Regions from separate parts of the Homo sapiens genome. Here region 1 is linked to region 2. Evidence: promoter capture Hi-C in human tissues and cell types (Jung and others, 2019). All regions are on one chromosome and are shown on one strand. The core of a region is centred on a gene start or on the middle of the fragment in contact, and the rest is flanking DNA. Distances in the headings are between cores, read along the strand shown.

Region 1 (4,541 bases), core at 852-3,351, 140 kb before region 2:
ATATAGACTCTAGCCCCTTCTCATCCCTATGACCCCATTATAGAATGAGTCCACTGGAAATACCTTTCTTCTACACTGCTTCTCATTCACTCTCCCCCTCTCAATCTCTCTCTTCCCATAATTTTGATGCTTACCTAAAGAAATTGGAAATAACATATGGTAGGTCCTGCTAATTAAAAGCTTAGCAGAATAAAAGGCATATGTCAGATGGCTCACTTCAGACACCCATAAAAAGTTAAAGCTAAGACTAAAAATTAAAGTTAATTTATCATACTATAAAATTATAGGTAGGAGATCCAATCAATTACTAATGGCACAAGTGCAAACCCAAGGCCTCTGCTGTCTAAATACATATTTACAGAAATAATAAAGTGAGACAGTGGACCTAAAGAGAAGGAGAGAATGTACTCTCCTGCCATCAGGGGGCCATTTACTTACCTACCTGGGACCAAGAGCTATAATATTCTGCAGCAAACTGCCAATCATCCATTTCTTCTCCAATGTTCTTGGCAATTTCATCTGTAACTGTCTGCTCAGAACACAGCCCTTTAAATTTACCTCAAGGTCCATACTCTGAGTTACCACTAGACATCAGGAAGCAGCTACTCCATTATCACTGTCTTAGTCACACAGGCAGTCCTTCCCAGCCACCTCCAAAAGGCTCAAGTAAGTATTTGGCATAATTCATTAAGAAAGAGGATGAACACTAAGTTTCAGCCTATAATCCCAGCACTTTGGGAGGCTGAGGCAGGAGGACTGCTTGAGCCCAGGAGTTCAAGACCAACCTGGCTGGGCAACATAGTGAGATCCTGTCACTACAAAAAGAAAAAGAAAAAGAAGAGCTGGATGCAGTGGCTCACGCCTATAATCCCAGCACTTTGGAGGGCCAGGGCAGGTGGGTCACTTGAGGTCAGGAGTTCAAGACCAGCCTGGCCAACATAGTGAAACCCCATCTCTACCAACAATACAAAAAACTAGCCGGGTGTGGTGGCACATCCCTGTAACCTCAGCTACTCAGGAGGCTGAGGCACGAGAATCACTTGAGCCTGGGAGGCAGAGGTCGCAGTGAGCCAAGACTGCGTCACTGCACTCCCGCCTGGGCAGAGCGAGACTGTCTCAAAAATAAAATAAAATAAGAAAGAGAAAATGTCAGTGTAGTTAACCAACAAAAAGGAATGTTTAATCATTTGCCAAAACAATAGTTAAAGTAAGGTCACCAGATACATACAAGATCTCTCCCAACTAACTCACAAATATAATGAAAGGTTCTTATAAGGTTCCTCAGGTTGGCTGTTCACGTTCTTATAAAATCTGAGACTTTACACAGGGTGAGGCCCCATATCTACAAGGCTTCAAATGATACTCTCAGAGAATGCACCTGGAACCACTAAAGAGATCTTTTTCATAGTCAGGTAGCTTGATTCAGGACAGAGGGCTGAGCTCAAGATTGACTCCCTTTCTCCTGGGAGCAATATTCTAGAAATAGTTCCTAATTTGAGCCAATAAAAACGGGCCACAATCGGCAGGCCCTACCTTAGTGGGAGAAAACGAGATACAAAAGACAGGGCACAAGCCAGGCACAGTGGCACATGCTTATGGTCCCAGGTACTTGGAAGGCTAAGGCAGGAGGATCACTTGAGCCCCAGAGTTTGAGGCCGCAATGAGCTATGATTATGCCACTGCACTCCAGCCTGGGCAAGAGAGAGAGGCCTTGTCTCTCGAAGTACAACAAACAAACAAAAAATACAATACAATAAGATATTTTGTTGTTGTTGTTGTTTGTTTTTGTTTTTGTTTGAGGCAGAGTTTCGCTCTTGTTGTCCAGGCTGGAGTGCAATGGTGCGATCTCGGCTCACTGCAACCTCCATCTCCCGGATTCAAGCCATTCTCCTGCCTCAGCCTCCCGAGGAGCTGGGATTACAAGCACCCACCACCATGCCCGGCTAATTTTCGTATTTTTAGTAGAGACAGGGTTTCATCATGTTGGCCAGGCTGGTCTCAAACTCCTGACCTCAGGTGATCCACCGGCCTCAGCCTCCCAAAGTGCTGGGATTATAGGCATGAGCCACCACACCTGGCCAATAAAATAAATTTTTAAAAAGAGCACAGTACAAGAATGTCTTCTACAAACCATAAAGGAACTAGACTCTAGTTCTAAAGACTCCAGACATAAAGGAACACACCTAACAACTCCTTCTTTGACTACATTATCTAAGTACTGTGTCCTTTCAAAATTATATTATTCCTGTTACTTTTGTACTTGTACTTTGTTATAAAGCTCAATATGCAGACCTTAAGAGCCAATGAGCACTGAATGCTCACATTTTGAGTAAAGGAAAAGAAATAGCTGTGGGCTATTAGCTCACCAAGGAATAAAGCAGGATCTAAAATGCTGTGTTTAACACCTACATGTGAGAAAATCTCCCACAAAGGAAATGTATGTATCTAAAATCTAAATACAGACTTTTTCCCCACTATCATCTAGTCCTTGCTCCAGAAATGATAAAGTGGACAAAATTAGAGTCCTGTTTCTAGTGAGTCCTCACTTTCTCAGGAAAGAGTGTCCTCTGCAAATAAAGTTTATTGAAGTGGGTGTTGTGTGTGTATGTTATTTACAGTTGCATAGGAGTAACATTTCTATATTTCACTGGAATTAATTTAGTATAAATCTGAAGCTAATTCCGATAAATTAAGATATGTATGGTAAGCCCTAGAGCAAGCACTAAAGAAATAACGCAAAAAATAGTGAAAAAAAATTAAAGCAATAAAAACGCTTTTTAGAAAATATTCACTTAATGCAAAAGAAAGCAGTAAAGAAGGATCAGAGGAACAAAAAATGAGATAGCAATACCTCTTTGGTCTGCAGATATTGCATATGGACATAAAACATAGGCTGAATATCCCTTATCCAAAATGCTTGGGACCAGAAGAGTTTTAGGTTTCAGATTTTTTTTTTAAATTTTGGATATTTGCATTATACTTACCAGTTGAGCATCCCTAATCCAGAAATCTGAAACACAAATTGTTCCAATGAGCATTTCCCTTAAACATCATGTTGGTACTCAAAAAGTTTCAGATTTTAAAGCATTTCAGATTTCAGATTTTCAGATCTGAGATGCTCATCCTGTACTAGCAAACTGAGTCCTGCAAAATATAAAAATTATACACCATGACCAAGTAGGATTTATCCCAGGAATGCAAGGTTTAACATCTGAAAATCAATTAATGTAGTACGTTTTATCAATAGAATAAGAAATAGAAACCACAAAATCATCTCAATAGAAGCAAAAAAAGCATTTGACAAAATCCAACACCCTTTGATGATAAAAACAGCCAACAAACTAAGAACAGAAAGGACTTTCTTCAACCTGATAAAGAGTATCTACAAAAAAAGTTCACAGCTAAATGTTTTAATAAATTAAAATACAAGAAAGAAAACTTATTAGGTTGGTGCAAAAGTAATAGCAGTTTTGCCATTACTTTTGCACCAACCTATAAAACCACCTATAATCCTGCCAACCAGAGATAAGAACATGTTGGTTAATAGCCTCTCAGGTATACGTGTATTCATTTTGGAGACATTCTTTTACCACAATGATATAGCCAAGGTTGCATGGTCAGACATCTCCTCAAAGGACTGAAAGTGATAGAAAACACAAACTCTTCCCACCCAAACTATTTTCCCATCAATGATGCAAAGGCTCAGGCTGACAGCCTAAGTTCCAGTATTGCCCCTGATGTCAGCTTGTAAATAAATATTATTTTGTGTCTCTGGTCCCTACTAAGCCCAGATGAGTACAGAAAAAGGACTGAACAAAGTTGGGTATGGAAGGGGCTGATAAGATTCCCAGACTTGCACAATCAGGACAACAAATTTTTAAAAATAATAATAATAAACATGTATATAGCACTGAATATGTGCCAGGCACTATTCTACATGCTTTATATATATTGTCATTTAGTAATCTCAATAATGACATAGGTCCATTGTTATCCTCACTTTATAGCTGAGAAAACTCAAGGAAAGAATGGTTAAATAACTTGTCCAAAGTAATGGTACAGCAAGGACTCAAACTCAGACAACCTGACTCTAGAGTCCCCACTCTTAACCACTACATTATGCTATCTCTTAAACAGCAGAGGAATGAGCAAACCTAAGAAACAAAAAGGAATGGAAATATGTAGGAAAAAACGGGAGAGGCTCCATTTCTATCTCTAATCACAGTTAAGTTCCAAATTCAGCCTGACTCAAGTTAAGAAATCTGAGCTGTAGTTATCTCAGAAAAGCAGTGGGGGCCGGGTGCGATGGCTCACGCCTGTAATCCCAACACTTTGGGAGGCCGAGGCTCACATCTGAGGGTCAGTAGTTCAAGACCAGCCTGGCCAACATGGTGAAACCCTGTCTCTACTAAAAATACAAAAAAATTAGGCCAGTGTGGTGGTGGGCACCGATAATCCTGGCTACTCGGGAGGCTGAGGCAGGAGAATCGCTTGAACCCAAGAGGTGGAGGTTGCAGTGAGCTAAGACTGCACCATTGCAC
Region 2 (4,565 bases), core at 1,981-4,480:
TGCAGTTTTTTAAAAAAATCAAAGTTGTACCCTAATAGAATATAAAAAAGTAGGCAGGTGTAAGAGAAAGGTGTAATGAGGTGAACCCCAATAGAAGGTATGATCAGAATTTATTCATAACAGGTGCTGTCTTCCAGTGCAGTGATCAGCTTGTATAGCACCAGAGATCATGGTATCTTTAACAAATTGTTCCGGCTAAAAAAACAGTTGTGGCCAGGCACAGTGGCTCATACCTGTAATCCCAGCACTTTGGGAGGCCGAGGCAGGTGGATCACCTGAGGCCAGGACCTTCAAGACCAGCCTGGCCAACATGGCAAAACCCCGTCTCTACAAAAAATACAAAAATTAGCAGGGCATGGTGGTGTGCACCTGTGATACCAGCTACTCGGGAGGCTGAGGTGGAAGAATTGCTTGATCCCAGGAGGCAGAGGTTGCAGTGAGCCAAGATTGTGCCACTGCACTCCAGCCTGGGGAGACAGCAAGACTCTGTCTAAAAAAAAAAAAAAAAAAGTCGTGCTTCCTACTTCTTAGTATTTGGTGGGTGTGGGTGTCTTGGTTCATGACCATTTGCCACACCTGTTCTTCCTTTCTCCTGAAGATTCTGTGAGTCCCCTATGTTCTTCTAAATAACTTCATTTTTGCTTAAGACAGCCATGGTCTGTTTCTGTAATTTTTTTTTTTAAAGAGACAGGATGCTTGCCATGTTGCCCAGGCTGTAGTGCAGTGGCTATTCACAGGCACAATCATTGCACACCACAGACTCCAACTCCTGGCCTCAAGTAATCCTCTTGCCTCAGCCTCCTGAGTAGCTGGAACTGCATGCGTGAACCACCGTGCCTGGCCTACTTCTGTAATTTTTAAGGAAAAGTTTTCTAAGTGATATCACACACACAAACATGTGCCCATGAAAACGTAATGATTCCTTCACCAAACATCTGTGGAGACTTTGTGTCAGGCTCTACTCTAAATATGAGGATAGGATACAAAAACAAAAGAAATCTATGTCAACTAAGAGCAACTGAAGGAGGAGCAGTTTGGGGCAGGAAGATGATGTTTAGGACATGTTGAGAATGAAATGTCTGTGAGATGAGACATCTTAGGCAGAAATAAATATTTAGTAGACATTTGGATGCTCTTTTTTTGTGTGGAGCTTAGCAGAGACGTCTGAGCTGTAGGCAAAAGAAAAAAATAAAGGGGCTCAAAGTGGAATCAGGATATAGGAGGAAGAGCACATTTAAAGGATGATGGAGGGGCCGGGTACAGTGGCTCACACCTGTAATTCTAACATTTTGAGAGGCTAAGGCGGGCAGATCACTTGAGGCCTGGAGTTCGAGACCAGCCTGGCCAACCAACATAGCAAAACCCGACCTCTACTAAAAATATAAAAAGTAGCTGGGCATGGTGGTGCACTTCTGAAATCCCAGCTACTAGGGAGGGAGGCTTAGGCAGGAGAATCGCTTGAACCTGGGACATGGAGATAGCAGTGAGCCGAGATTGCGCCACTGCACTTCAACCTGGGCAACGGAGCAAGACTCTGTCTCAATAAATAAATAAATAGGCCAGGCACGGTGGCTCATGCCTGTAATCCCAGCACTTTGGGAGGCCAAGGCATGTGGATCACGAGGTCAAGAGATCAAGACCATCCCGGCCAGCAAGGTGAAACCCTGTCTCTACTGAAAATACAAAAATTAGGTGGGCGTGGTGGTGGGTGCCTCTAATCCCAGCTACTCGGGAGGCTGGGCAGGAGAATCGCTTGAACCCAGGAGGCAGAGGTTGCACTGAGCCAAGATGGTGCCACTTCACTCAAACGTGGGCGACAGAGTGAGACTCTATCTCAATCAATCAATCAATAAAGGATGGAGGAAGATGAACCAAAGGCAAATAAAACTCTGAAGGCAGTGCTATCTAAAAATAAAAATAAAAAAATAAAATAAAATAAAAGGAAAGGAAAACCAGCCAGGAAAGATGCAGTGCAAACCACAGGAGGGACTTTCAATGAGAAGGCTGTCAAATAAAAATGTCCTTGAAGACCTCAGCAAAAGCTACTTCAGGGAAGTAGTGGGTTGAGGATAGAAGGAAAGAAAGTGGAGGTGGCAAATGTAGCATCCTTGCAAGAAAATTGACTGAGAAAGGAAAAGGGGAGGGAGTGATGGAGGTGGAAGTGGGGAGATGAGGATGAAAGAACGAATTCCAAGACAGGAGAGATGACAGGGTATTTCTATGCTGAGGACGGAATGAGGGCAGTGAAACAGAAATGGATGCAAGTTCTCAAGGAAGGTAGGGGCCGGGGAGGAGAGGCAGGGCTCATAAAGAGGGATTGGCCTTGGAGAGAGGAGGAAAACTGCTCACCTGAAAAGGCAGTCAAGGGGTGGAAGGACCCCTGCATACAAATTTGTAGGTGTTACTGAAGAGTCGGTACACAGGCTCAGTGCTTCTAAATTATGTTTCTCTGTTTTGGTTTGGGTGATGAGTTGTTGATATGATAAAGTGATTTGTTGCACTGACTCTGGAGCCAGAGTGCCTGTGGTTGAAATCCCACCTCCACCACTTAATACCTGCTTGATCTTAGTTAAGTTACGTAATCTCTCTGTGCTTCATCCTCCTTATCTGTAAAAGGGACTAGGGGATAGAGAAGGCTGTCACATAGTGATATGGAAGTGGTTTTCTTTCCTTCCTTCCTTCTCTCTCTCTCTCTTTCTTTCTTTCTGTCTTTTTAAAATTTTTATAGAGACAAGGTCTGCCTATGTTGCTCAGGCTGGTCTCGAACGCCTGGCCTCAAGCAATCCTCCCACCTCAGCCTCCCAAAGTGCTAAGATTATAGGCGTGAGCCACCGCGCCCAGCCATGTTTACTATTTCCACTAGATTGTCATCTCCATGAGGTTGAGGTTTTCTATTTTGTTTAGGGCTGTCTACTCAGAGCCTGGCACAAAGCATGTGCTCAACGAAAATTTCCTGAATGAGTAAATTGGGGTGAAATTCTTGGGAGAGGGGCTCAGGGGGCTGGAATCCCTATTCCTGCGTGGGACTCCGGGCCACTGGGCGGCGTCCTGGGGTCTGGGGAAGGGCCTCCCCCTGCGCCGAGAGCGTGCCCGGGCGGGCGCGGTCCAGGCGCTGAGCCCCTGGGGCGCTCCCGTGGCTCCTCCCCCGGCGGGCGTGTAGTGTCGGCCCAGCGACTGCGGGAGGCATCCCGGAGCCGGCCGGGCGGGGCGGAGTCGACGCTCGGCCCGGCCTCTGCTCACCTCATCCACGGGAGACGGAAGTCTTGGCCCTGCTCCGCTCCCCCGAGAATCGGGCCTCGCCCTGCTGGGCGGCTGGACCTGGGCAAAGCCTGGGCGCGCTCCCGCGCAGCGGCGCCATGAAGCGCTCGGGGACTCTGCGGCTGCTCTCGGACCTGAGCGCCTTCGGCGGCGCGGCGCGGCTCCGGGAGCTGGTGGCCGGGGACTCAGCGGTCCGAGTCCGTGGCAGTCCGGACGGCCGCCACTTGCTGCTCCTGCGACCCCCTGGGGCGGTAGCCCCACAGCTGCTAGTCGCGTCGCGAGGGCCCGGCGCGGAGCTAGAGCGGGCCTGGCCGGCCGGCCAGCCCTCCCCGCTGGACGCCTTCTTCCTGCCGTGGCCAGCGCGGCCGGCGCTGGTGCTGGTGTGGGAGAGTGGCCTGGCCGAGGTGTGGGGCGCGGGCGTGGGGCCTGGCTGGCGGCCGCTGCAGAGCACCGAGCTGTGTCCGGGCGGGGGAGCCCGCGTTGTGGCAGTGGCGGCGCTCCGAGGCCGCCTGGTGTGGTGCGAGGAGCGGCAGGCCCGGGCCGAGGGCCCGTCAGGGTCGCCAGCAGCCGCTTTCAGCCACTGTGTGTGCGTCCGGACTCTGGAGCCCAGCGGGGAAGCTAGCACCAGCCTGGGCCGCACACACGTCCTGCTGCACCACTGCCCTGCCTTCGGGCTGCTGGCCTCCTGCAGACAACTCTTCCTGGTGCCCACTGCCACCACCTGGCCTGGCGTGGCCCACGTTCTACTCATCTGGAGCCCAGGCAAGGGCAAAGTGATGGTGGCTGCCCCACGGCTTGGTCTCTCCTACAGTAAGAGTCTGAATCCTGGACGAGGGGACACATGGGACTTCCGGACCCTGCTCCGAGGCCTTCCTGGGTTGCTGTCCCCCAGGGAGCCACTGGCTGTACACACCTGGGCCCCAACTCCCCAGGGCCTGCTGTTGCTTGACTTCGGGGGCACTGTGAGCCTATTGCAGTCCCACGGTGGTACGCGGGCTGTGGGCACCCTGCAGGAGGCACCTGTAGGCCCGTGGGGGTCTGCAGCCCTAGGCACATTTCAGGGCACTCTGGCCTGTGTGCTGGGCTCCACATTGGAACTGCTGGACATGGGCAGTGGGCAGCTGCTGGAGAGGAAGGTCCTAAGTACAGACAGGGTACATCTGCTAGAACCGCCAGCCCCCGGCATGGAGGATGAGGAAGAGCTGGAGACCCGAGGGAATCTTCGTCTGCTTTCAGCCTTGGGTCTGTTTTGTGTGGGCTGGGAAGCCCCACAGGGTGTTGAGTTGCCTTCAGCCAAGGATCTGGTG

The links. Contacts are between HindIII fragments. The study calls those that stand out against the background at their distance.
Region 1: a contact is called between a fragment that was not itself captured here and the fragment with the promoter of HPS6 in region 2, in 1 of the 25 tissues and cell types used here (mesendoderm cells).

What each region holds. Positions count from the first base shown.
Region 1 is chr10:101,926,951-101,931,491 of GRCh38, forward strand. All of the region lies in intron 23 of ARMH3 (armadillo like helical domain containing 3), which reads right to left. Among named protein-coding and RNA genes, the nearest start is that of KCNIP2, 85 kb to the left of the region's middle. The HindIII fragment of the contact is 7,411 bases long and covers 1-4,541 here.
Region 2 is chr10:102,062,119-102,066,683 of GRCh38, forward strand. HPS6 (HPS6 biogenesis of lysosomal organelles complex 2 subunit 3) reads left to right here and starts at 3,231. Exons shown (of 1, transcript NM_024747.6): 1 at 3,231-4,565. The coding sequence starts at 3,357. RefSeq lists an enhancer at 2,723-2,772 and a silencer at 2,983-3,652. The HindIII fragment of the contact is 30,919 bases long and covers 1-4,565 here.